7 separate regions of the Homo sapiens genome follow, and regions 1, 2, 3, 4, 6 and 7 are each linked to region 5. The links are contacts of gene promoters, found by promoter capture Hi-C in blood cells and fetal thymus (Javierre and others, 2016). All regions are on one chromosome and are shown on one strand. The core of a region is centred on a gene start or on the middle of the fragment in contact, and the rest is flanking DNA. Distances in the headings are between cores, read along the strand shown. Region 1 holds the start of EAPP (E2F associated phosphoprotein). Region 2 holds the start of NUBPL (NUBP iron-sulfur cluster assembly factor, mitochondrial). Region 3 holds the start of HECTD1 (HECT domain E3 ubiquitin protein ligase 1). Region 4 holds the start of FBXO34 (F-box protein 34). Region 5 holds the start of DORIP1 (dopamine receptor interacting protein 1). Region 6 holds the start of ACTR10 (actin related protein 10). Region 7 holds the start of ARHGAP5-AS1 (ARHGAP5 antisense RNA 1 (head to head)).

What was found. Contacts are between HindIII fragments. The CHiCAGO score rates a contact against its expected background, and 5 or more counts as called.
Region 1: a contact is called between the fragment with the promoter of EAPP here and the fragment with the promoter of DORIP1 in region 5, in 2 of 17 cell types (total B cells and total CD4 T cells). The highest score is 8.2, in total B cells.
Region 2: the fragment with the promoter of NUBPL here is called in contact with the fragment with the promoter of DORIP1 in region 5 in 2 of 17 cell types (total CD4 T cells and non-activated CD4 T cells); the score reaches 19.3 in total CD4 T cells.
Region 3: the fragment with the promoter of HECTD1 here is called in contact with the fragment with the promoter of DORIP1 in region 5 in 2 of 17 cell types (non-activated CD4 T cells and total CD4 T cells); the score reaches 8.8 in non-activated CD4 T cells.
Region 4: a contact is called between the fragment with the promoter of FBXO34 here and the fragment with the promoter of DORIP1 in region 5, in 1 of 17 cell types (total B cells). The highest score is 8.2, in total B cells.
Region 6: a contact is called between a fragment that was not itself captured here and the fragment with the promoter of DORIP1 in region 5, in 1 of 17 cell types (total B cells). The highest score is 6.8, in total B cells.
Region 7: a contact is called between the fragment with the promoter of ARHGAP5-AS1 here and the fragment with the promoter of DORIP1 in region 5, in 2 of 17 cell types (total CD4 T cells and total CD8 T cells). The highest score is 6.3, in total CD4 T cells.

The regions. Positions count from the first base shown.
Region 1 is chr14:34,538,382-34,541,710 of GRCh38, reverse strand. EAPP (E2F associated phosphoprotein) reads left to right here and starts at 2,010. Exons shown (of 6, transcript NM_018453.4): 1 at 2,010-2,156. The coding sequence starts at 2,083. LOC105370447 (a long non-coding RNA gene) reads right to left here and starts at 1,962. Exons shown (of 2, transcript XR_943739.1): 1 at 1,927-1,962; 2 at 5-1,525. It overlaps LOC112268123 (a long non-coding RNA gene), which reads left to right. Exons shown (of 2, transcript XR_002957583.1): 2 at 1-477. RefSeq lists a silencer at 1,833-1,932 and enhancers at 2,073-2,232, 1,883-2,807. The HindIII fragment of the contact is 15,759 bases long and covers 1-2,962 here.
Region 2 is chr14:31,559,133-31,562,653 of GRCh38, reverse strand. It overlaps NUBPL (NUBP iron-sulfur cluster assembly factor, mitochondrial), which reads right to left and starts at 1,250. Exons shown (of 11, transcript NM_025152.3): 1 at 1,107-1,250; 2 at 439-586. The coding sequence starts at 1,214. NUBPL-DT (NUBPL divergent transcript) reads left to right here and starts at 1,323. Exons shown (of 3, transcript XR_943720.2): 1 at 1,323-1,543. RefSeq lists enhancers at 526-1,081, 1,008-1,407. The HindIII fragment of the contact is 6,263 bases long and covers 1-2,037 here.
Region 3 is chr14:31,206,391-31,210,203 of GRCh38, reverse strand. HECTD1 (HECT domain E3 ubiquitin protein ligase 1) reads left to right here and starts at 2,411. Exons shown (of 43, transcript NM_015382.4): 1 at 2,411-3,188. RefSeq lists enhancers at 1,470-1,981, 1,835-2,004, 1,982-2,493, 3,006-3,519 and silencers at 2,185-2,524, 2,825-3,034, 3,155-3,364. The HindIII fragment of the contact is 4,913 bases long and covers 1-3,813 here.
Region 4 is chr14:55,269,307-55,273,040 of GRCh38, reverse strand. It overlaps FBXO34 (F-box protein 34), which reads right to left and starts at 1,620. Exons shown (of 2, transcript NM_017943.4): 1 at 1,504-1,620. It overlaps FBXO34-AS1 (FBXO34 antisense RNA 1), which reads left to right and starts at 963. Exons shown (of 2, transcript NR_184222.1): 1 at 963-1,159. RefSeq lists a silencer at 1,069-1,568. The HindIII fragment of the contact is 2,090 bases long and covers 98-2,187 here.
Region 5 is chr14:44,895,766-44,899,601 of GRCh38, reverse strand. DORIP1 (dopamine receptor interacting protein 1) reads right to left here and starts at 2,327. Exons shown (of 5, transcript NM_001017923.2): 1 at 2,034-2,327. It overlaps LOC101927418 (a long non-coding RNA gene), which reads left to right. Exons shown (of 3, transcript NR_110050.1): 2 at 289-372; 3 at 526-694. RefSeq lists silencers at 1,673-1,992, 2,013-2,142 and enhancers at 1,509-2,008, 2,633-2,682. The HindIII fragment of the contact is 3,873 bases long and covers 1-2,668 here.
Region 6 is chr14:58,199,754-58,203,601 of GRCh38, reverse strand. ACTR10 (actin related protein 10) reads right to left here and starts at 3,453. Exons shown (of 13, transcript NM_018477.3): 1 at 3,308-3,453; 2 at 675-747. The coding sequence starts at 3,384. RefSeq lists an enhancer at 3,071-3,260 and a silencer at 3,421-3,810. The HindIII fragment of the contact is 1,549 bases long and covers 1,546-3,094 here.
Region 7 is chr14:32,074,951-32,078,717 of GRCh38, reverse strand. It overlaps ARHGAP5-AS1 (ARHGAP5 antisense RNA 1 (head to head)), which reads left to right and starts at 2,019. Exons shown (of 1, transcript NR_027263.1): 1 at 2,019-3,299. ARHGAP5 (Rho GTPase activating protein 5) reads right to left here and starts at 1,414. Exons shown (of 7, transcript NM_001030055.2): 1 at 1,283-1,414. RefSeq lists silencers at 1,061-1,355, 1,154-1,373, 1,734-1,993. The HindIII fragment of the contact is 3,747 bases long and covers 713-3,767 here.

The DNA of each region.
Region 1 (3,329 bases), core at 761-3,260, about 10 Mb after region 5:
CACATTTCCAAAGCAGAGTACCAACATTTATTAATCCTCACAACACCCCTGTGAGGTAGGTCAGTATGTCCTTTAGAGTCGAGAACTGAGGCAGAGGTCAAGCAAACCTGCCCTGGGCCACAGAGCAGCAGATGAAGGGCCTAGACCTGGATCCAGAAGCTAGGGCTCTCGGTCCAGCATTCATCCACTGGTGGACATCACATGGGCTTATTTTTACCAGCGAAGGTTACGTGAAGGACAAAACGCACTCAGCCAGCAACGGAAACTCAACAGTTCAAACAGCACTGGGGAACATGTCAGTTAAAGAGACGAAACGCTGACCAGCTCATGAATGAGGCAAGACAACATGCGGCTGAGGAAGTGTGGAATCATCACGACTGGGGATTAGACCAAGAACGGGCGCTCAGGAGGGTTCAGGAAAATGTAAACAAACTAGGAACCCATCCAAGGGGTGACAGGCCCAAATGCCTACGGTCTCCAAATGGTAGAAAAATTAGAAAAAGATAGTGGAAAAATCCAACCACGCAACCTTAACTTTAAACTAGGAATGACAATAATGTGTCTAATGTTCATTCACACTAGAAAGGCCGATAATGTTTGTAATATAACTACTGGCGATAGTATCCTATTTGTATGCCAACTTTCATCTCAAGTATTCTGCTTTTCTTTCCCCACAGACAAACAAGTGTTGTTCTTTACAGCAGACCTCTTTCCCTCTACATACCAATCTATCCACTCGCATAACTACTAAGTGGCTCAATGGCCTATGTCTCATGCTTAATTGGCTGAGCTAGGCGCGGAATCCGGGAAACCACAACAGACTGTACTCTGCTCCTGTATTTCAGGAATAACTGTCACTAACCTGCTTCTGTCCGATTCCACCTTCTATGAAGTACACACAGAGGAGCAGTTCATTCTTTTGTAAAGGGATTGGTGGACTTTGTTCGAGATGCCATTTCAAAAGAAATGAGAAAAAAGAAAAACTAAGACCTGCACTGTAAAGCATAATACAGGAGTAGATTTATTACAGCTACTCCACATTTTAGAGAGTGCCACAGTGTCTCGGTAGGAGGCAGGAACCCGAGTTCCTGGTTCAGAAACAGGGTTAGAAACAGTCTCCCGATGGAGCTCAAGTGGCTGTCATCTGCCTGTTCTCCTCAGGTATCGAGTGGGATCAGTTGAGGGCTGAGCAAAAGTGGGGACTGGGAAGATGACGAGAAAAGATAACTTTTCGTAGATTGTTGAGGCCGCAGTCAGACTGAGGAGTGAACAGTGTGAAGGAGAGGTTGAGAGCCTCATGGTGTGGAAGGCATAAGGGTTAGAGGCGAGGTTGGAGGGATGTGGGTGCTGGTGTCTGAGGACTTATTGGATTTCGGGCTGTGTGTCCCTCAGCGTCTAGATTCCTGCTTCGTAGGTGATGAGACGCTGCATGTAGCATGTTCACCTCAGAGACTGTCACTTATGAGGGTGCCCATCATTATTATTTTTGGTGACAAGGTAGCTGCTATTTTCCTGTAAGCAGAAGCTGCGGAAGAAAATGGTGGGATTGGCCGGGAGCGGTGGCTCACGCCTGTAATCCCAGCATTTTGGAAGGTCGAGGTGGGCGGATCACCTGAGGTCCGGAGTTCGAGACCAGCCTCAACATGGAGAAACCCCCGTCTCTACTAAAAATACAAAATTAGCCGGGCGTGGTGGTGTATGCCTGTAATCCCAGCTACTCGGGAGGCTGCGGTAGGAGAATTGCTTGAACCTGGGAGGCGGAGGTTGCGGTGAGCCGAGATCGCGCCATTGCACTCCAGCCTGGGCAACAAGAGCGAAACTCCGTCTCCAAAAAACAAAACAAAACAAAAATGGTGGGATTAAGACCCGCCCCCGTCCCGTCCCCGCCCCTTTTCGCTCCTGCTCCGCCCCTTCCCCGCCTTCTACCTGCCTCCCTCGGTGCTGTCGGTCTGCGCGGGCGCGCAAGGGGGACTGGGACGTTCAGGCGGAAGTGGCGTCAGGGGCGCTTTAGGGACTGGACTTGCAGTGTAAACAGAGACGCTGCAAATTGCTTGTGGACGGTGTAGGCCGCTGCAGGCCACCATGAACCGGCTTCCGGATGACTACGACCCCTACGCGGTTGAAGAGCCTAGCGACGAGGAGCCGGCTTTGAGCAGGTGGGCTCCCGCCCCACCCTGGCCCCCGAGGATTTGGGTCGAGGCCTGGCTTTGGTCGCCTCCATTCGTTGCGCCTGCCGAGCCTACGCAGACCCTAGCGGCTCGGGAGCCTGTCGTGCCTGTTACTTGTGCGAAGCCAAAGGGCTTTCCTGATGGGGTCGCGCAGTCCCGGGGGGAGGCGGTGCCGATGTCGCCTGTAGGAAGAGGGATATTCCGGAATCACGGGGGACCGCGTGTAAATCTTCAAAAGCAATGAGATCGAAACCTGTCTCTACACCTTAGTAGCAGAGTGACGGAAGGCAAGTCAGTTATCCTCGATTACTCACCTGTAAAATTGAACTATAATAACATAATTGTATAACCTATATAACATAGTATAACACACTATGTTTGTTGTGAGGCTCACAGGACTTAATGTGAAGTGTCCATCTTGAAGACTAAACTGCCATAAACAGAAATAAGGGAATATTGAACAGCCTTTTTTATTTTTATTTTTTGACAGGGACTGTTGTATGCTCGCTCTGAGCTACAGAGATAAATCATAAGGTCCTTGTCTTCCAGAGGCTTATAGTATAATAAGGGTAATAAGATAAAGTATATATTTCTTGGCAGAGCATTGTAGAGAATATTGACCTGAGATAGGCACAGAAGAAGGTTCGTGGGATTTCCAGAAGGGTGGGCTTTATTCTACCAGGGAAACTTGAAGCTGTTTTGCCGAGATATTTCCACACAAATTTAGTTATTTCTTAAGCTGTCAGCAGATCCTATTCTTAAACTTTAAAACATTCATTCTGCCTAAAGAAGCTTTCTGTAAAGCCATGCTTTCATTAACAACTTTGGCTGGGTGTGGTGGCCCATGCCTGTAATCCCAGGACTTTGGGAGTCTGAGGCGAGAGAATCTCTTAAGCCTGGTAGTAAAGGAACAGCCTGGGCAACATAGTGAGACCTCATTTCTTAAAAAAAAAAAAAATCAAAAGAACAATGTTTCCTCATATTGTCATGGGGAGACATTGGATGCATGGGAAATCAGACTGCTGTTAAGATTTCTTTTGTTGGGAGTGAGGATAGATACCAGGATTCCCTGTGAAAAAGAGTTTCAGTTAATGGGTCCTGTCTGTGAAAGGAGGTATGTATATATGTATGTCTCAATTATTTATTTATTTATTTATTTAT
Region 2 (3,521 bases), core at 1-2,500, about 13 Mb after region 5:
ACAGCCTGGGTGACAGAGCGAGATTCCGTCTCAAAAAAAAAAAAAAAAACAAAAAAAAAAAGTTACTAGATGTTTTAAAAATAACAGCAACCAATTATTGAACACTAGTAAACACTAAGCTAAGTGGTTAGCTTGTGCAATTTGAATAACCATCTTATGAAAGAAGTTATCTCCATTTTACAGTTAAGTGAACTGAAGATTTGCTGTACAATCTGACCACTTTTTCCTGAGTTAAGGGGTGGGAGACCCGGCTAGTACCTACTTTTGTCTAACTCCAAAATCTAAGCGTCTACCCGCTACCAACTCCTGAAACTAAGGAATCACATGTTAGGAACTTCACAAATAAATTTTTAAAACACAAAACTATAATTTCAATAGTGTGCACTTGTCTGTTGGCATAAGTTCTTAATCAGGAATAGAATTAATATCCTATAATACCTGCTGTAGTAGATTTTCCGACTCCACCCTTTCCAGAAGCCACAACTATAACTTGTTTAACACCTTCTATCGGTTTCTGCTTTGGAAGTCCTCGGGACATGATTTGTGTTCTTCTTTGTTTTAGGGTCTCACTCCCGGCGCCAGACAACTTTAAAAAATAATAATAATAAAAAGCCGTTTTAAATAAGCCATCTCCATCATCACACTGTAAAAGCAAAAACAATCTGGGGTTTGCAATTAAGAGGGCTTTCTTTTCTAATTCTGCTCATCTTCACTATGGAGACATTTACCTACTACTACTGATAACAATTGTAAAGACACATTGCTTAAATTGAAATTTTTCTAGCAGGATACGCTGAACGTTTAAAAATGTAAAAACGCTGCCTCTTTACGGAGATAAGGCTTCCACGTGTTTTGCTTTTCTTCAATCTATTTGATAAATAACCCAAAGCCAAGAAAGCAATGTAGAATACCACATCTACGTTCTAACTGTGTTTCAAGTCCCGCCACGCCTCAGCCTGGGCCTGCCTGAAAAGTAGGCACGTCCAGCACACTGGGGGTCTCAGGAACTGAGGCGAGTCTTTGGCAAGAAGCAATGCCAGGGCATCTGCGGCCCTGCAGCCCAGCATCTGTCAGCCCGCTTCCCCCTGCCCTGCAGCACCACGGACCTGGCGCCCACAAACCATCGCTCGGCTTCCCCCAAGCGGGGCAGTGGCCCCGCCACCAGCCCGGAGCGACACCCCACCAAAAAGCAGCAGACGCTGCCAAATCCCCATGACGCGGAACGCTGCTGTGAGCCCTGCTGGGAAACTGTCGCGGGTGGCGCGGAGTGATGACGTCACGGAGCAACGCTCGGCTTTCTCTTCCTAGCAACCGGTCTTCTTTGGGTTTGTTGGCTCAGGAACCCAATCTGCATGATCTTGTTTATAGCCAGCTACAAACATTTTGCAGCGTTTTACTAAACGTTTGTGAAGTGTTGTCATATAAAACATCTCTTATGATACTTACAGAAGTCCCGAGGTAGACAGAAGACTTACCTAGTATACTCTTTTTATGGACAAGAAAACGGAGAAAGTTTAAAGAGACTTGACCCAGCTTAACAAAAGTAGGAAATGGGGGACCTTGAAAATGACCCCAGGATTTCTTACTAAGCAGTATATGGTCATTTAAATACTACCACCGTTAAGGATTTTACCTTTTTATTTTATTTTTTCCCGTGTGATCTACAGTGAGAGTCTGTTTTGCGTTGGTATTCATGGCTTGTGTTGCTGACAGTTCCCTGAAAGAAAGGTCAGGTTGCTTTACCAGCAACCTGGTAAAGAACTTTGCAAGTTCTTCCAGACTTAAGACTCATTTATTTAACAAATATTCGTTGAGCAACTACTATGTACCGAGTACTACAGTAGACTTAAAATATTCAGCATTGAGACCGACATAATTCCTCCACTAAAGGGCTTTATAATCCAGTGCAAAAGACAGAATAAGTTAACAACAAAATTGCGGTATAATATGATAAGTACAGGAGAAAAGCATTGAGGGATACAGGAGAAAGGACAAAGTGATACAAAGAAAGGGCACTCAATTCAATCAGGGGAAGCTTCTAAATTAGGTAATATCTAAGCTGAATGCTGAATCTGAATAATGTGTAGAAGTTAGCTGGGAGAATGGCAAGGAGATTGTTGTAAAGAGGTTAGAAATGGACTGCTAAGGCTAGGCATGGTGGCTCACGCGTGTAATTCCAACACTTTGGGAGGCCAAAGCAAGAGGATTGCTTGAGCCAGGAGTTCAAGGATGCAGTGAGCTATGATTGCACCACTGCACTCCAGCGTGGGCAGCAGAGTGACACCTTGTCAGAAGAAGAAGAAAGAAGGAAGGAGGAAGGAGGAAGAGGAAATTAAAAGGAGAAGAAAGAAGAAGGAAGAAGAAAGAAGAAGAGAGTAGAAGGAAGAAAGATGAAAGAAGAGAGAAAAGCCCCCGCCCGGCCAGCTGCCCCGTCCGGGAGGGACGTGGGGGGCAGCCCCCATCCGGTCAGCCGCCCCGTCCCGGAGGGAGGTGGGGGGCAGACCCCGCCCGGCCGCCACCCCGTCCGGGAGGTGGAGTCACCTCTGCCCGGCCACCCCGTCTGGGAAGTGAGGGGCCCCTCTGCCCAGCCGCCACCCTGTCTAGGAGGTGTACCCAACAGCTCATTGAGAACGGGCCATGATGACGATGGCGGTTTTGTCGAATAGAAAAGGGGGAAATGTGGGGAAAGGAAAGAGAGATCAGATTGTTACTGTGTCTGTGTAGAAAGAAGTAGACATAGGAGACTCCATTTTGTTCTGTACTAAGAAAAATTATTCTGCCTTGGGATGCTGTTAATCTATAACCTTACCCCCAACCCCGTGCTCTCTGAAACATGTGCTGTGTCCACTCAGGGTTAAATGGATTAAGGGCGGTGCAAGATGTGCTTTGTTAAACAGATGCTTGAAGGCAGCATGCTCGTTAAGAGTCATCACCACTCCCTAATCTCAAGTACCCAGGGACACAAACACTGCGGAAGGCCGCAGGGTCCTCTGCCTAGGAAAACCAGAGACCCTTGTTCACATGTTTATCTGCTGACCTTCCCTCCACTATTGTCCTATGACCCTGCCAAATCCCCCGCTCCGAGAAATACCCAAGAATGATCAATAAATACTAAAAAATAAAAATAAAAAAATAAAAAAGATATCAAAAATAAAAATAAAAAAAGAAAGAAGAGAGAAAAGAAGAGAGAACACAAGAGGAGTAGAAAATACATTTCTTTTCTGGATTGTTAAGAACTGTAAATGATCTGTGCAACTTAGGACAAAGTGACTAAAAGAGATGAGGATGGAGTGAAGGTTGGTTAGATGGAGGTTGCCTAAATCAAGAAAGGCTGTATATATCTTGTAAAGAAATTTGGACTTTATCCTAAGGGAACTATAGAAGGATTTTAAGCAGGAAAGTAACATCAGATTTGTGTTTTAGAAATACCACTATGATTACTGGGTTAAAAAAGAAATGGATCAGCGGGGCAAGATCAGAGACAAGGAGACATGAGGTCTCTCTCTTGAAGGCTTGACTTA
Region 3 (3,813 bases), core at 1,162-3,661, about 14 Mb after region 5:
ACAAAAAATTAGCCAGGCGTGGTGGTGGGTGCCAGTACCTGTAGTCCCAGCTACTCGGGAGGCTGAGGCAGCAGAATGGCATGAACCCGGGATGCAGAGCTTGCAGTGAGCCGAGATTATGCCACTGCACTCCAGCCTGGGCAACAGAACGAGACTCCGTCTCAAAAAAAAAAAAAAAAAAACAACAAAAAACTTGGTAAAGGTATAATCCCTTTTTCTAACTTTTCTATTTTTTGTTAATAGCATCACCATTTTCCTAGCTTCCAAGTCCTCTTTCTACGTTAAGGGTTTTTGTTTTTTGTTTTGGCAGGGTCTTGCTCTATTGCCCAGGCTGTAGTGCAGTGGCATGATCATGGCTCACTGCAGCTTCGACCTCGAGGGCTCAGGTGATCCTCCTGCCTTTGACTCCTGAGTAGCTGGGACTACAGGTGTGCACCACCACACCCAGCTAATTTTAAAAATTATTTGTAGAGACAGGGTCTCCCTATGTTGCCTAGGCTGGTCTCCTACTCCTGGGCTCAAGTGATCCCCCTGCCTCTGCCTCCCAAAGTGCTGGGATTACGGGTGTGAGCCATGGAGCCTGGACGGAAATTTTTAAGTTAATCATTTAAATTCTGATATATCTTCTTTCAAAAATTATTTTTAGATTTCTTCCCCATTCATATTGCCAATAACTAGACTTTTCTTTCCTCCATTATTGCAGCATTTCGACAACCTCCAGCTAGTCTCGTCTAGATAGATCCTTTTAGTCGTTCTAGACACTTTCCATAATTAGTCTTCTTAAGACTAGTTTTTCCAGTGTTGTAGTCCAGAACTTGCTACTTAGCTCAGCCTAATTTCTGCATTCCTCATTCAAGGCCTTCCCCACTTTAGCTCCAAATTTCTCTCTCTGTTGCTTACTGTTGGTTCTTTGCTGGGGGCACAGGTGACCTTTCCTATGTCTAGGAACATATCAGGCTTTATGTTCTTCCCTTTCCTTTCAGTGTCTACATTGTACCCATTCTTCAAGGTCCAGAGGGAATGCCACTTCCTTCTTGAAGTTTCCTGGCAGCTCCAATTCACACTCATGACATCTAAATAATTATCCTCATGTGTTGTACTTGGGACAAAATAGTTGAATCCTCTTTTTCCTCTTGTTTCGTTAACAGGATACCTAAACGGACCATTACCTGCGACAACGGGACATGCGCGGATAGCTATCTGAAGTACAAATTTGTCATTTCCAAAATACTGGTTCTTTTTCTAAAGAAGTAGTAAAAAAGAAAGAAAAAAAAGAACCAGTATTTTGGAAATGACAAATTTGCTTAGTCGCCCAGGCTGGAGTGAGGTGGCATTATCAAAGCTCACTGCAGCCTCAATTTCTTGGGCTCGAGGGATCATCCCATCTCAACCGCTCCAGTAGCTGGGACCATAGGTGTGCGTCACCGCATCTGGGTAATTATTTTTTAAATTTTAATTTTTTTGCAGAGACCAGGTCTATGTTGCTCAGGCTGGTCTCGAACTCCGGGCCTCAAGAGAGTAAAATCATAAAGTGCTGGGATTACAGGAAACGCAGCGGACCCAAATTCTGTTCTTTACTCATACCTAGCAGCTCCTCTGGTTGCCTGAGGGACCATGTCTCAAACACTATCATGTCGTATTAATTTTTCTTTTTGTTTAAAAGCTGAAAGTGAGAGTACAGTAGGACGTCTCCGGGCTCCAACTACGTCCTATAAGCATGCATCCTTTATTCTGAATGCGTGTGAAATAAAGTTTGAAAAGAATAACCACAGACATACTTGTGACCACAAGCCACAAGAAACGTAGTCAAAAGTGCACTCTCAGTGCTGCTGCCGACCGGGCACGGCGCTGGGCCTGCATTTGCGCTTTCCTGGAGCCTCAGTGTCTCATCTGTACAACGTTGATAATCGTCGGCAGCACCTCTTTCCCAGGGTTGCTCTGAAGGGTTTTCTTTGGGGTGAACCGCCAGGCGGTCGGCCTCCCAGGAGCGGGGGGAGACGCCTTCCTTACGCGACGCACTTCCGTGCGCGAGGAGGGAAGATCGTGGCTGAGTGCGGGTGGCCTGGGCGGAAGGCTCAGCGGGGACAGGTTGGGCCGCAGCTTTGCTGTGCTGTGCCGTGCGACGCCCTCCGCAGGAGCGCGCAAAGTGTTAGCCACGGCGCCAAGCAAGCTGGACGTGCGTGCATGAGCGCGCTCGGACTGACAGGGAAGCGAAAAGGGGGCCAGGGCGCACCATAGAAAAGCCGCGGCAGAAACGTACGACACAGCCCGAGGCGGCGGGGGCGAGAGCTCCGGGGCAGGGACGGCGACGCGGCGTACCCGGTTTGGCGCCCCTGCGCGGCGGTCGGCCGTCCCGCAGCGCCCCAGGTGGCCGCCGGCGGGGTCGCCGCCGGGGGAGTGGATTTGCTCCGCCTCCGCCGGGCTCGGCTGCCCTCGGCAGCTTCCCCGCCTGGCTCTCCCTCGACCCTCCTCCCCTCCCCCTCCCGGTTCGCGATGGACTGGGCCTCCCCGCCGCGCCGCCGCCGCCGTCGCCCGCAGCACCGCGCGGGCCTCTGAGTTGCAGGGCCTGAGGAGCCGCGTGCTGGGGACTGGACGTCCGCTGGCTGCTGCCGCACGCGAGAACCTCTCGCTTCCCTGTCACCAGGTCCTCGCGGAGGAAGGGGAGGGACGAGGCGCGGCTTTTCCTGTGCCGCCTGCCCGGTTCGACCTGCGCGGCCTGCGGCTTCTTGGGAACTCTAGGGCCGCGGCCGGGCCTGGCTCTGCCGGCGGCCTGTTGGGAGCTGGATCGGAGCGGTTTGGAACGACAAGCCCGAGTAAGAGCCTGCGGGAAGGGGAGGCGGGAGCGCCTCGGACCGTCGGAAGGGCCCTGCGTGGGGGCGCGGATCCCGGACGCCCGGCGAGTGGCGGAAAGCGAGACCCCGGCGCCGAGTGAGGTCGGCCAGGCTGCTGCCGACTTCCCCGCTGGCCCCTTTGTTCCCCTCCCGGGGCCCTGCCGGCGGCGGGGCCCGGTTGCCCGCGCCAGAGCCTCAGGCCGGCTCCTTTTGCCCTTGAGAAGGGTTCGCTGCCAGGCCTTCGAGTTCCGGGCGCAGCTCCCGGGAGAGCCGGCGCCCTGCCTGGCCCGGCGGCCTCCTCTCGGGCACGAAGGCTTGCTGCTGCTTCTCCAGAACTTCCCTTCCTCGTAGACACAGGTAGTTAACTTAGCGGGGTTTGGTGCTGGGGAACCACAGCGCGGGGGCCAGCGCCTCTCAGCGCCCGGCTCGGCCGGGCCCCGGGTGTGGGGTCAACCCCGCTGGTCGCCGCCGTTGGGTGCCCACCGCGCCCCGCCGCCGGCTTCCCACACTTGCGGCTGCGTTACGTGGGACCCAAAGCTGTCCTCCAGTCAGGGCGCTTACGGGGCGCTTTTGTAATGACTTACCTGTTGGGGTTGCTTCTCGGTTTTGTTTTTGTTTTTTTAACCAACTGCCCTATCTTGTGAAGCTGGGGAAAGAGGGCCCTAGGTTGGCCTACATTCGTTCGGATCCGTAACCTGCTGGTCCATTGCATTTACTTTTAGCCTTTCCTTTTTTAATTTTTTTATTTTTTTAACTTTTAAGAATAGTTGCCAAGACTGCCAAAATTCCTAACCAACTCTTTATTCATAGATAAATCTTGTATATAATTGTCGTTTGTATTTGGATATCTTTAAAATAGAAGTAAATTGAGAAGTCAGCAGAATATGTGAAATTGGAGGTAATTTTGAAGGAGAAACAATTTGGAGGGGGATTGGATCAAGGTGTTTAGAGTTTCCTCAAAATACTGAATCTAACCCTTATC
Region 4 (3,734 bases), core at 371-2,870, about 10 Mb before region 5:
GGAGGAAATGAAAAGTACTGATATGCTGGAATACCCGAAGAGGGTCACTATGACAAAGTGACTAGCTTCTCTTCCAGTTAGATCTCTTCTGAAAGCTTTGGAAGAAAAACAGTATTCACAGACAAATCATTTTTTTATTCTCTAATTTCATATTTAAAAGCACTACAGACAAAATTTTAGTTACCTATCCAGACAAGCGGTCCTGGAATATGTTTTTATATTAAGTTATAGCCGGGTCTCAGTAAGAAAGCAAGAAAACAGCTTGTTGCTGACTTCTAAACCATGGTAGCATGGGGTGGTAGCATGGTACCATAGGGTGGGATAGGGACAACCTGGATAAATTAACTCCTCAGGTAATTATTATTTAAGACAAATGTTGGATTAATTCAAACTCCTCCCTCCCTTTACAACAGAAAAAAAAAATCATGTAAGATCCACTCTCCCTCCTCCTGGCCATTTTCTAACAAAAAATGCTAACAAGCAGATAGATGTCCAGTTAAAAAAAAAAAAAAAAAGCAAACTGATTTATCAACACTAGAAGTGGTTCTCTTTTTTTTCAGTAATTCTGATTGCAAACTATCAAACTACGAATTTAGCTTCCTAAAAGGCTTTTTACATTACACCCTCCAAAAAACCTCCTACCCTGACTTAAGTTTTTCTAAATCAAATGTCTTATACTGAGCTGTACTCGCAACGCTTGCTGGACAAGAAGTTAAAGAAATTGACAACTATTACATTAAAATTGCAAAATGCTGATACCGAACAACTTTCGATTCAAATCCACTGCGATTCCAAGCGTTCGTGGAAGACAACTTCCTTTTTCTACCCTGCGGGTCCCCCCGGCCCTTCCGTGAGCCCAGGTCCCCGCCCGGGCCTGCAGTGACATCCCAGGACCCATCTTCTGACGTCACAGACACACGGACCCACAGCCCTATGACTTCATCGTGGACTGAGGACGAACCGCAGTCGACTTGCGCCAGCCCAGAGGCTGGGGAGGCGTCCGAGCCTCCGTCCCGCCTCGTCGTTGAAGAAGGTTAAGGACAAGCGCCAGCTCACCTGCGCTGGGGCAGGGAAGGGCAGAGTGGCCGAGCCCGGGAGGGCGCGACAGGGGCGAGGCGACCCCAGTCCAGAGGCTGACTTCCTCACCGCCCTGGGTCCCGTAAGTGGGAGCGCCGGTCCGGTGCAAGCTCACGGCCTATCCGTGAATCTCCTCGGCTTCAGCGGGGACCCAGGACCCCGCTCCCTACCCGCCCGACCCTCCGTGGCCCGCGGGGACGCTCAGCGCCCGGGCCGTGCGCGCGGAAAGAGCCGCACCGGAGGAGGCGCAGGCGGCCGGGTCCCTACCCCGGACCCGCGGGCGGCGCCCCCGCCCCCACCCCCACCCGCCCCGCGCCCCGGGAGCGCAGGCAGGCGGCGGTAGGGGGCGGGGAGCGGCCACGGTGGCCGCCGCCGGACCCCAGTCGCGCGGCCCTCGCGCCACGCCCCACCTCGGCCCGGACCCACCTGCGCTCCTGCCCCGGCCGCGGCCTGGCCCGGGGCTGCACCAGCCCGACGCAGTGGTGGCGGCAGCAGCGGTGGCGGGAGGCCTGGCTCACTCCCCACCGCTGAGTCGGACCGAGCACCCAGCGCGGCGCGGCGGCGCCCAACGCTCGCCCCGAAACCCATTTGTTTGGCTAAAACGGAGTGACGTCACGCGCCGGCCCAATCGACGGTTGGCCGGGGGAGGGGCCACGGATCCAGAGTTTCACGGCGCCCCCTGCCGGACACTGGGGGCGGGAAGGGGGAAGTGAAAAGGGAGACCTGGATGACGCGTCTGCGGCCCCCAAGTGGTAGAGAATGAAAGTTTGAGCACGACTGTAGGGAAAGGAATCAAACCTCCCAGGCCAGCCAAGAAGGGTAGTGACGCCAGGGTTCAATCAGCAGACATGTCAAGTTTATGAATATTCGTGGGTGGACCTGAAGCTGTAAATGGTCTCAGATACTATTAGATAACCTAGTAGACCTGGATCCTCATACTGGTTCTGCTGCTAGCTTGGAAGGCTGGGGTTCAGAGTTTCAATTTGTAAAATGACAAAATTGGAAAGGTCCCTTCTGACTCTCTTTCCTATGAAAATCATGGCAGGGATACCGGTCAGAAAGTAGATAAACGTTGAGGCTGACACGAAACTGTTAAAGTCTGTAGAAGCTTAAGGGCTGGTTAATGATGGATATAAATTTTTAACACTTTATATTCAAATCAGAGGGCCAGTGAGGAACTTTTGATTCCCAATCTTTAAGCTTATTATTGTTTTCATTGTGAAAATAATATTAACCACATTGAAAAACATGAGGACAATGTATTTTCTTCTAGACCTTTTGCCCCATCACATATATTTTACTACACTGTAATAGTAGTTGTACGCGATTTTGCATCCTCTTTTCACTTTTATAAGCATTCCTCATATTTCCACATAAGCTTCATAACCAGTTTAACAGCTGCATAAAATTACATTAAGTGGACATAAAATTTACTGCAGTAATTCTCTATTTTTGGACATAACTTGTTTCCTTCATTCACTTTTTGCCATTATAAAGAAATCATAGAACATCTTCATGAATGTAGATTTTTAAAGATACCCAAAAGTGAAATTACTAGGTGAAAAAGACTATCAACACTTTCACAGTTACTAATACAAACTGCCAAATGATTTTTAAAAGGTTGTACCAAGTTACACTTAAACCAGCAACTTTGATTTTAGCCAGTCCTTAACAAAAATAATTTTGTCCAATTATAAAACTACTGTTGTAAAATATATGTGTAAAATCTTAAATATTAAAACGTAAAAACAAAATAAAAATATTTCCCATAATCTCATCACCAAGAAATAACCACTCAGTATCTCCATCTAGACCTTTATCTATATACATATTTTTAATAAAAATTGGAGAGGGGAAGTCCAGGCACGGTGGCTCACATCTCAAAAAGGAAAAAAAAAATTAAGGAAGGGTGTTATATGGTACACCGTGGCATCAAACTGTATGTCTGATTTAATATGTGAGCAATATTAGCTCAATATATCATGATCATTTGAAGCTTCTTTATGTCATAGTTAGCTCAAAATTGTAAAACTTCAGTTTATCCTTTCAGATTCATCTCAAACACTGTCCTTCTTAAAACCTCTTGATTCCTTCTGGGCATGGTGGCTCACGCCTGTAATCCAAGCACTTTGGGAGGCCAAGGCATGCAGATCATTTGAGGTCAGGAGATCAAGACCAGCCTTGCCAACATGGTGAAACCCTATCTCTACTAAAAATACAAAAATTAGCCCGGTGTGGCAGGGCACGCCTGTAGTCCCAGCAACTTGGGAGGCTGAAGCAGGAGAATCGCTTGAACCTGGGAGGTGGAGTTTGCAGTGAGCTGAGACCACACCACTGCACTCCTAACTGGGCGACAAGAGTGAGACTCCATCTAAAAAAAAAAAAAAAACAAACAAAACTTGATTCCTGTTGATTAGAGGACTCAAAAAATTGATATAAAAATGAAATTAATTTTAAAAGACATAATAAAAGCCCGAACTATTAATTATTATATTTTTTCATCTTTTTCTTGAGGCAGGGTCTCACTATGTTGCCCAGGGTGGTCTCAAACTCATGGCCTCAAGCAATCCTCCTTTCTCAGCCTCCCAAATAGCTGGAATTACAGGAGTGAGCCACCATGCCTAGCCTATGAATTATTGATTATTAAAGTCCACAGA
Region 5 (3,836 bases), core at 1,078-3,577:
TGTAGAGAAAAACTATGTAAAAAAAAAAACTCCTGTTGCTATATAGACTAAGACTAATTCTGACATTTAGCTTTGAAAGACAGCATGAGGAGTAATCATGAAAATCAATCTTAAGTGAATAGTAGCATAGCTAATATTGCTAATCACTTTGGGATTTTTATTTGCAACTGAGAATTGTGCTATTGTGCAATTTAGATATACTATAATTTTTAACTACAGAGGCTATACTATGAAGATCTGATTCAGAACTTGATAAATATCCTGATTATTCCCTATGCATGTTTTCAGAATGAAGCAAAGCATCCTCCCTTTTCAAACTGGCACTCTTCCCCAACCTTGAGGACCACTAGGCACTTTGTTTTTAAAGCCACAGTAAGTATTTTAATAAATATGTTGTGTTATATGTATGTTATATAGCGCACATACTTTTGAAAGAATGAGTTCTTTTTACAATTGTATTGAAAAAACTCCTTCACTTTACTTGGGACAAGCAAATAAACTAACAACATCATATTGTTTTCCGAGGTTACTTTTATGGAGAAGTATTGTTATGAAAAAAGGGAGGCATCTGAGGAGTGGAAACAGAGAAATGAGTGACTGAGATCAGTGTCTTATTTTGACCATCTTTTCCAAGTGCTGCATCCTCCCAAACACAACATGAACTCAACACTTAATAAAGCTGCAGTCCTACGTGTTTTATTTGTGTAAGAAACTAAGTCCAAAACATTCTGCAACGCGAGTAAAAATTCACTTCTGCAATATATTAAACACACATGAACACAGTGTTTTCAGTTTGAAGCAAGATACTGTGGACTCTAAAATATCCAGTAACTATATTTAGTATGAAGAGTGGATGTTTATATCTAGTTGGCCAACACATTGATTCTAGTCATCCACTTAGGAAGAAGAGGGTGTGGCAAATCTGCAGCCTAGGAAAACACAAACTCAGTTTCTTCGTAATAGATACTGATTCGTTTTGTTTACAAAGATTTTAAAAAACAGTTATGCATTCAAATACTTTAAAAACGAAAATAACTTTATGGTTTGATTTATTTCCGTTGAATTTTAAAGAACTTTGTAGCAAGGTTTAAGATTGCTTAAAGAGCCTGAGTTCGGATTCCTAAAATAGTGCATTGGGAAGGAAGCATAAATCTCTAGGATATTTTCTTCACATTATCTTCAGACATGACCAAATGAAGTGTAACTACCCTTACACTCTAAGAGAATTAAACTATAATGACATATGTGGCATGAAACTTTAGTCTTTCTCTGGAAAAAACGGGAGGAGGGAAGGTTTGGAAGAACTAGAGGATACTAGTTTCATCATGAATTTGGTGATTTGTTCCAAAGTAAATTGCAATAAAAATGAGGGGTGGGGAAAAATGATGGAAAGATAGCTGTGAAGAGCTTTACTTAAAATTGTCTTAGCTGTTTAGCTAGGAACTGTAATTAGAAGGACTGGAGGATGTATTCCGCTGGCTTTATTCTCCAGGCTCTACGGGCCCTCCAATTTGAATAAACCTGGAAAACTCTCCTGACCTCTATTTCTTTGACAAAACATCTTTCTTTCGTGGTGACTTCCAAGGGAGGAAATTGGTACCCCAAGCTAGCCGTGAGGACCCCACCACATGCCCAAGGCATTGAACGCCAGACTCCCTAAGGACTCAGGGATTCTAAAAGTCCCCTCTCAAATCAGCGCCTAAAATACGCCTGTACAGCCACGCGCTACCGCTCCCAGCAGCGCGGGACTTCGGGACAGGGACAAGGCGGACGCTAGGCGTGCGCCCCCGGGGAGCCCCCACGTTCCGGCCACGCCCACCCTGGCCCTGGGCAGCCGCGCCCGGGAGGCCTGGCACCGAGGCGGGCGGGTCCCCGAGTTAGGGGCCCGCGAGTCGGCTGGGCGCCCCCGCCTCTGCCCGGGCAGTGCCCCGCCGAGTGCTCAGAACTGCGGACAAATAGGCTGGAGGGCCGGGCCGCGGAAGGCGTTCCCACACCGGCCAGTCTCCGTCCACCAGGAAGCAAACTCCTCGTACCTCCCTGGGGACCGAAAACTGCCGGTGCCGCCGCACCCGTCGCCGCCGCCGCCTGCTCATGGAGAGCCCGGGCTGCCGCCGCCGCCGCCGCCGCCGCTGCCTCATCTATGAGTACCGCCGGCTGTCTCGGCCTCCCCCGGCGTGAGTTCTGGGCTCTGGCATGGCCTCCATGGCAGCCGCCGCGGCGGGAGCCACAGCAGCTCCAGCGCCCAGGCCCAATCTCACTGGACCCACGGAGCCAGGACAGTGGGACACGTCGCTTCTTATTACGGAGGAAGATTCGGCACGACCTCCGCCCCCCTCCCCCCAACCCCCCCGTTTTCAGCCGCCTGACAGCGCAGCTGCGCAGGCGCGAAGACGCCCCAGCCTAATGTGCGTGTGTCGGCTGTGTATACAGCATCCAGATTCGCCCAATGGGAACCAGGATCAGGTGTGGGGGGCGGGACCTCGCAGAGAGGGGCGGGGTTCCACTGGTAGAAGGTGGGTGGGGAAGCCGGAAGTGGGCAGAGTTTGCACGGAGGCGGAGCTTTATTGGCAAACCTGATTGGCTTTTTGAGGTTTGTACCATTTTAGGACTTGATTTTAGTTTGCTTCTGGGTCTTGTTTTCTCAAATTCTTAACCTAGAAAGAAAGCTTTGTTTTCTCAGTAAATTACGGTTTTTTAAGCGTTTAAGTATTTACTTAGAAAACAGTTGAATTGATCTGTTAAATGCCAGCTTTAGTGTTCAAGTTAATTATTGGCCAATATACTGTAACTTACAGTGGAAGTTAACCCCATTTTGAAAAATTAGATTGTTTTAATTCCATTGTGAAGTTGAAAAAATTGGGTTTTGGAGATAATAAGGTCCCACACAGCAAGTGACGGAGCTGGAAATTACAGTTAGGACAACTTAATGCTAGTTTGTGGGCTCAACCACTATTTCTGTTTATTAGGGCCGAGTTTTTGTATCTCCCGTAAAGAAGCAAGGCCCTGTATGGCTCTGCATCTGGAGAACACAGGCCACCCTGCAAAAACTACCTCTCCTTGCAAGTAGGCATGGAGATCTGGTTGAGATTTTCCCCATCCAGCCTTTCAACAAATAATGAGGGTCTGGAAAGTTAGCTCTAACGTTCAGAACACGTGAGGGCTAATGAGAGAGCTCAAGGCTATCCTAGTAAATCAGTGTGGTTTTCCGTCACAGGCTGAGCCTGGGAGAGGCTGGATGCCTTCTTGACCGGTGTGATGGTCGGCCAAAGCTATGGAGGGGAACTTCCTCATGGATCTCTCTAAAAAAGTCTAGAAATGGAAGAGAGACTTCCATTTCTTGAGTTTTGGCTCTGCCCAAAAAAGAATAATTAATAGCTCTGGCAAAGCCTGCTCTTTTTAGTTTCCTGTTTTTTCTTATTTCTTATGGTATTTTATAGATGAGGAAACTGAGGCTCTTAGAGATAAACTAGTGTGTTGGAAAACTTGCAAAAAGTTCACTCTCAATATTAATCCTCTCCTACAGGTAGAAAAGCCCTTTAAAAATGTTTGTAAATGTGGATTATGTGTTTAATTATAAATCTCTCACAAGACATGGAGTTCATTTTATACTGATTAGGTCATTCTCTTCCTGAAAACAGCCATAGTATGGTGGATGACACCATTTCTGGAGAATAGTATTGAGATTGCTCATTAAACTCTGCCGAGTCTCAGCTAGATGGAGGAAGCATGGATTCCTTGAATACTTGGATAACTCACAAACATCACTGAGGCCTTTAACTGAAATTTCCATTCTGCATCTTTTCCACCGTCTTCAAAATCTGACATCTGAGTTGTAG
Region 6 (3,848 bases), core at 1,071-3,570, about 13 Mb before region 5:
TATGATTCCATTTACATAAAATGTACAGAAAAGACAAATCTATAGAAACAGAAGGTACACCCTAATGGGCTGAGGATAGGAATGAGGATTAATTGTAAACGGGTATTAGGGATTTTACTGGGGTGATGAAAACATTCTAAAACTGGATTGTGGTGGTACTTGTACAACATGATATACTTATGGTGTGCAAAATTAGACCTTGATAAAGTTGATTTAAAAAGAAAAACTTTTCCTTGGAAATATAGCCACAAAGTATATATTTAGTACTGTTTCTTGTTTCTTTTTTTTTTTTTTTTTTTGAGACGAAGTCTTGCTCTTGCCCCCCAGGCTGGAGTGCGATGGCTTGATTTTGGCTCACTGCAACCTCCGCCTCCCGGGTTCAAGCAATTCTCCTGCCTCGGCCCCCTGAGGAGCTGGGATTAGAGGTGCCTGCCACCACTCCCGGCTAATTTTTGTATTTTTAGTTGAGACAGGGTTTCACCATGTTGTCCAGGCTGGTCTCAAACTCCTGATCTCAGGTGATCCACCCGCCTCAGCCACCCAAAGTGTTGGGATTACAGGCGTGAGCCACCACGGCTGGCCTTTAGTACTGTTTTAATCAATCTTACTTGAAGTCATATTTTAAAACATTTTATAGTATGGCATTTATTTTGCTAATATTTTTTTTTAAATACCTTAGGCATCCCAGCTCTTTTTATCACACTAGGAATTATACATCTTGGACCAGTTTCTCCAGCAAATCCACACCTGCAAATAAATGGAAAATTGAAACAACTTATAGTATTCTTTTAAATATTTGTCACAGAAACTAATTTTCTCTGTATTTGTTTCAAAACAATGGCCACAATAACATTTGAAAATACCTGATGTATTTTAAGGGATCAAAAAAAATCACTCCACAAAACTAATAATACTATTTATTAATGCTTGTGTATTAACAGAAAAAAATTCTATGAAATTCGTGATGCTGAAAAAAACAAATGTATTATTTTAGGGCAGCATTTACTTTTTTTTTTTTGAGATGGAGTCTGGCTCTGTCACCCAGGCTGGAGTGCAGTGGCGCGATCTCGGCTCACTGCAAGCTCCGCCTCCCGGGTTCACGCCATTCTCCTGCCTCAGGCTCCTGAGTAGCTGGGACTACAGGTGCCGGCCACCACGCAGGGCTAATTTTTTTTTTTTTTTTTAGTAGAGACGAGGTTTCACCGTGTTAGCCAGGATAGTCTCGATCTCCTGACCTCGTGACCCGCCCGCGTCGGCCTCCCAAAGTGCTGGTATTACAGGCGTGGGCCACCGCGCCTGGCCAACTTTTTTCCTAGTTGTTAATTTTAGCAGAATTTAGGCAAGACATATCTACAACTCTGAATCTGTACTACATTATGTGACTTCATTCATATAATTCATCTGTATCACTCATAATTCCATCATTCTAATATTGTTAGCTTCCATATTGGTGTATTCACTTTCAGTCTACTTCTTATGATTATGCATATATATTTGACATAGTTTTAATCACACTTCATACATAATTAACTCATACAGTAAGCTTCTGCCCATATTAACATAATCTTCATTGCTATCACTTTTTTTTTTTTTTTTTTTGAGGCAGGGTCTCGCTCTGTCGCCCAGGCTGGAGTGCAGTGGCACAAACTCAGATCACTGCAGCCTCCGCTTCCCAGGCTCAAGCGATCCTCCCCCCTTGGCCTCCCAAAGTGCTAGGATTTCGGGCACGACACTACCGCCGGCTAAATTTTGTATTTTGTGTAGAGCTGGGTTTCCCCATGTTGCCCAGGCTGGTCTTGAACTACTGGGCTCAAGTGGTCAGCCCGCCTCAGCTTTCCAAACTGCTGGAATTACAGTATTATTTTTAAAACCACATATTTCATTATTTTAAAAACGATGCTCTTTTCTTGAGTATTTAGGTATTTCCATTTTTGTTTCATGTTAGTAAAACAAAAATTTGCTAAAAACGTTGCTAAAAATGATCATCATACTAGTTTAGTCTTAACATCCTGTCTTCTTGTCCTGTCTAGTTTTTGATACTGCTCTCCTCGTATTCCCAAATAATTCTCTCCATCTCCTCCTATTCCCGTCTCCATGTTTACTTGCATCAGTGCTCCTCAAACATCTCAGAATGCAAGCCATTAGACTTCAATTCCTTTTTTTTACTTCATACATTTATCTTATCATCCTCCTGCTGTCTTTTTCAAATATAGCTTTTTGCTTATTTCTTCCAAGTACAGCCAAAATAATTATCTTTGACTAGAAGCCTCGAACTGTTTATTACGCTTTCAAAATAATTTTAATAAGAAAATATAAATAAGGAAGGGCCTCGCATAGAACAATAAGAGAATGTCATTAACCAAGGACTATGTTTAATCCAATTCTGGAGTTCCTGGGGTCCAATTTTTAAATAGGCTCTTTTAACCACTTAGTCAATAAATAGTTATTAAATACCTACTACACGTCAGGAAGTGCCTAGAGATATAAAAAGATTTTTCAAATGTTTCATTTTCATAAATACATATATGATGTAATTGCCTGTTACTTCCCTCTCTGTTGAGCCCATCACAAGGACTCTTAATCTAGGGTCCCAGGACCACATTGATTGTCTGCCAATTCCCTGAAACTGTGTATAAGTACCTTAAGATTTGTGCATTTGTGGTTTTCATCCAGCCATTAAAGAGATCTATGCCATCCGAAAGGTTGAGAACCTCCTCTCTATTGTTTACAAGTTGGTTTGTTTAAAACATGTCAAATCTAACCTTCGAGTTTAGGGGAGCCAACAAAGGATTTCCAGAATCTTATCTATAGGGTTTCACCTCTTAATGTGCCCAGTCTCCCTAATTCTTGAGCAGCGATAGCCCTGTCTTAAACATCTTTCCATTTTCAGCACCAAAATAAACTCCGTTCAATATTTTATGATGAAATTCGTCATCGAGCATTTACATTCGGTTGGCTGCCTTCCTCAACTGAGGAGCCCAGGGTAAGCGGGGTCTAGGTCACGGTTGTCATCCCCTACACAGATGATCCCAAAGGGTTTGTTGGGTTTGGGGTGATGACAAGGGGCGGCGACGAGGGCAATTCAACAGAAGCTTTCTGGGCCTCTCTGGGAGTCAGACCCCGATCCTCGGATTCGCATCGCCCAGGGAGGAAATAATAAGAGCTGTTATTTGCAAGGGCGCTGGTTGAAGAAAAGGGGAGGCCCGGAGCTGCCCAGCGAGTCGGCGATGAGGACCCAGGCAGTGCCTGGGGCTCTGCCACCCGCCCTCCCCTCGGGTCGAACACAGCTGGCGTCACGGCCACTCACTTGGTAAAGGCCTCTCCCAGGTCGATCACGACCGCCGTCTTCTCCCCGCCGCTCCCCAGGCCCTCGTAGAGCGGCATGGTAGTAAGGCAGACTGAGAGAAGAGGGTCGCAGTCTCCGCGGCCAACAAGTCTCGGCGCTCGCGGGGCGGGGCCGGGGCTCCGGCGCTCGGGCGTCGGCGACGGCGGGGGCCTCGCGCGGCCGCGGCGCGCCGGGCCCGGGCTGTCCCAGGCTGTGCCTCATTCCGCGTTGGACCCACCCTTGCAGGTGCTGCCGTCGCCAGGACTAGGGGAAAAGAGGCGCTGGCGGGCGCGAATCCGAGTGCGGGGGCGCGGAGGCCGCGGCGATCAGGCGCGCCGGTCGCCCTGAGGGGGCGGAGCCGGCCTCCCTATCCTTCCCTCCCACCACGCCCCAAAGCCGCACCCACGCGCGGCTGTGAAGAGGTTCGGTCTCAGCTCACTGTGAAGAGGTCACTGAGGACCTGGCTGCCAAGGGGCAGCCGAGAGACGACGCAATTCCGAACCTTTGATTCATGCTCTTGGGG
Region 7 (3,767 bases), core at 770-3,269, about 13 Mb after region 5:
CCCATGAAGTGAACGAGATCCTTCATGCGGATAAACACCACCTAACATTCTAACTGAATACTGGTTCTGGATTTAAGTGGAATTGACAAACTCGCCCCCCGCCCCTACCTGTAGAAAGCAACATAAGCAAGTACTAGTAAATACAGCGAAGCATTTTGCTGTTTTACACCTGAACATTTAAAAAAAAATTCAGTTTCCTGCCTATCACAAAGGAAAAAATAAATGATCGATAAGAATTTAAACTTAAAACGTAAGCACAAACCCATCTATATGCCTATCTTGCTCTATCTCAAAATATTTGAATTCCCATTTATTAAGCGATGGCCAAATCCGAATTTCTATCACATGGTAGAAGTATAAGCGTCTCCCCTACAACTTTTTCGGGATTTTACTAAACGGCCTAATAACAGTTTGCCCTTACTTCCGTGCACCTTTCAACCTCAGCTACACCCCGAGCCTCCAGCTCTCTTGCATTTCTAATAACGCTGAAGAGGGAGGGTGAGAGGGAGTATTTCTGTGTGGATAAGTGCGCGCGCGCTCCCGCGCGGCTCCCCACCCCCACCCCGATACTTTTCTTTAGTGGAAAGAGAGGAAGAATCTGGAGGTTATTCTAGCGAAAACTCAGTATCAAAGCCTCAACCCAGTCGCAGTCAGCCCATAGGACTCTGGGCTCTGGATGCGCAGTGCAACTTCTCATATCTTACTCCAAGCTTCAAAGCAGATGGAAAATTGGTGAAGAGAACCCAGGGAGGAGTCGAGGAGATGAGGGAAAGTGAAAGGGCCGATCCCCCCTACAAGGCGTTTAAGTTTGCAACCGAGACTGTGTTTCCGCGAATCTGCACCCGCCCCGTGTACCCTTTCCAGGTGGAACTCGTTAACAGCAGCAACCCGGCCAACGGACACCGCCACCTCCCCTCTCGACGGACCACCCGAGACTCGAGCAAGTGAGGCGGCGGGCGAGAGCGGACGCCTGGCGGGGCCGGCGATCCCCGGCCAGCATCAGGCCTCCGCCGACCCTGGCCCCGTCACCTGTGGAGAAAGCACCCCCTCCCCCGGCCTCTCTGCCCTTCACGCCGAACGTATCCCTAACGCTGCAGCTGCTGCCCGCCCGGCCTGCGAAAACCGAGCGCAGCGCCAGGCTCCCCTCGGCGGCCGCGGGGCCCCAGCCCCTTCAACTGGTTACAACCGGCAGCGGCGACCGAGCGGGGCAGCTAGCCGCAGGAGGGTCCCCGTCCGGGAGGGGGCAGGCAGGCTTGGAGGAGCGGGGTCCGCAAGGTCCTACCTAACAACGTCGGTCTCCTCCGTCTCCTCCTCAACGGCAGCGGCCCCGGCGGTGGCGGCGGCAGCGACATTCCTGGGGACCGCTCCCGCCGCCGCCGCCTCCTCCTCCACTCTCCGCTCGCCTCTCTTCCTCGGCGCGCTCACCGAGCGGCGCGTCCCTTCAGCCACCTCCCCCCGCCCTCCCCGACACACACGCCCCGAAACCCTGAGCCCCACGGCTCCCGCAGCCAGCTCACCCACCCTCCCTCCCTCCCTCCCCGCCACCAGCGGCGGCCCGTCCCTCCCCCCTTCCCCAGCGCCCGCCGCCGCGCCGGGCTCAGTAATGGCGGCCACTCGGGCTCCCTCGCGCTGACGGATTTCTCTCCCTCTCTCCCGAACTTTACCTCAGCATCTCTCCCGGCGCGCGCAGCCACACACCCGACCGGGGGCGGAGCGGCGGCGCGGCGGCGCAGCCTGGACGGGACGCGCGCGCGCGCGCGAACCCGCGCTGCCCTCCCCACAATCCCCCGTCCCCGCCCCTTCACCTCGCGACGCCTCCCGCGCCGCGCACCCGGCACGGCCCCGCCCCTGCCCTCGTCTCCCGGGAGCCTGGGAAGGCGCGAGCTATCCAGTCGGAGGGAGGGGGACGAGCGCGCGGGGCCGCGTCCTCGCTCGCGTCCCCGCTCCCTCCTCCCCTCTGCTTCTCCCTCCCCTCCACTCCCCCATTGGCTTCTACCCCTCCCCCTTCTTCCTCCGCCTCTCCCACCATTGGTTCCCTCCCCTACTCCATTCCTTCTCACCTTTTCCCTTTTACCCATTGGCGTGAGTATTTTTCCTCAGCTTCCCTCTTTCTCCGTATTCTGCTCCTCCTCAGTCCCATCCTCCACGCTTTGGAAGCTACTGCCTTACTGCCCGGAGCGCCGTCGTCCCCGAACCTCCCCTGCTTCTCCCTTTCCTTCTGTTCCGGTTTCTGGTCGTAACTCAAGAGCAAACCACCGTACTGCAAAGGAACCAGATATTGTGCTCGCGGTTCCAAACCGGGCATGGGCACCGAATGCTTCTCGATAAATCCCCTTATGGTCTCTGAGCATTAAAGAAAGCAAGGGAGGAAAACATGCGCCCAAGCTCGTTCGCAGGAACATGTTCGCGTGTCTGCGCCTGTGTGCGCAGCCAGTTTTCTGGCTGAGGATCGCTCGCCAACTACAGACATCACCCGCCCAGGACCCGGTGCCACACTCACCCAGAAGACGAAACTCCACAGGAGCGAGAAGAGGAGTCCATTTCTCCGTCGGCTCGGCACGGCACGGGGATGCAGGCCCCTGATTCAGTACGTTCTGTGAAAGTGGAGCGAGAAGCCAAGACGTGGATCGAGAAGCCCCGTGGGGCGGGTCTCAGGGTGGCCCAAAAGACCCCTGTTCACGCCACTACCAGCCTAACTTTAGGAACTGTCGTCCACCTGGCTTTTATTATACTGCCTTAAACATATTCACTTTTTTGAGACTCTAGAAATTTCACAAGTTTTGGGGTAGAGCACACTGGGCTTTGGGTGTGTTTCTCATGAGGGCACTGACGCTGAATGGTGCAGTGAGAAAGGACGGTAGAAACCACTGCCTTTGCTTTTACCATTGAAGAAACTGAGGTCCTGTGACTTTCCCGAGGTCATCGGAATCTGCCTTGCACAGGAGACTTAAAATAGTTGCCAGCAGATAAAAGAATGAGCAAAACCACATCTACTCCAATTTGTTAAGTCTGAAAGAAAGTAATTGAGGGGGGATTCCTCTTTGGGGAAATATTTATTTCCTGCATTGAAAATAGTTTAATGTTAGTAAACATATAAAAAGTATTTTAAATTCAAGTTATTCTTTATTTCTTATGTTACATAAGGTACTGAAGTTAGCCAAGGTTGCTTTTGTGTTATAATGATGCAGCTGCTGCCAACCAGAAGTACATTTACGGTCTGTCAGTAAAGAAAACAAAAACTGCCTGTTGGTAAAAATCTATTAGAAAATATTTGTCAGTAAATTTGTCACAATATTCCAGCAGAAGTTCTGTTCGTTTTTCCGTCTTCCTGCCCTTCATATTTCTCAAAGGTAGACTTAATAAAGGTAGAAGAGACATTTCTAATTTTTCTATATATCTCTTGCTCCCTAATTTCTAAAAGGCATAACTAAAATGCTTTATTCGAGCCACTCCCTTGCATCTGAACCCTACCTACCAAGTAGGTTAAGAGTAGGTTAGGTAAGGTCTGTAGCTACTTCTTTCTTTCAGTTACAAATTGTAGGTGGGAAAGAAGGATGCGGAAGGAAACTTGCAAGGAAAGCAAACAGAAAGAAAAAGAAGTAAAAAAGGAGAGAAGGGAATTTGGTGGGTGGTCCAACCATCAAAATGTGGTACTAATGCCATAGGTATCTACACCACTTATGTAAGTTGGAATGTTGATGCATTCCAACGCATGTTTTTATCTTTGTACTGAAAGCCCTTAAGAATACCCGAAGTAAACATATAAA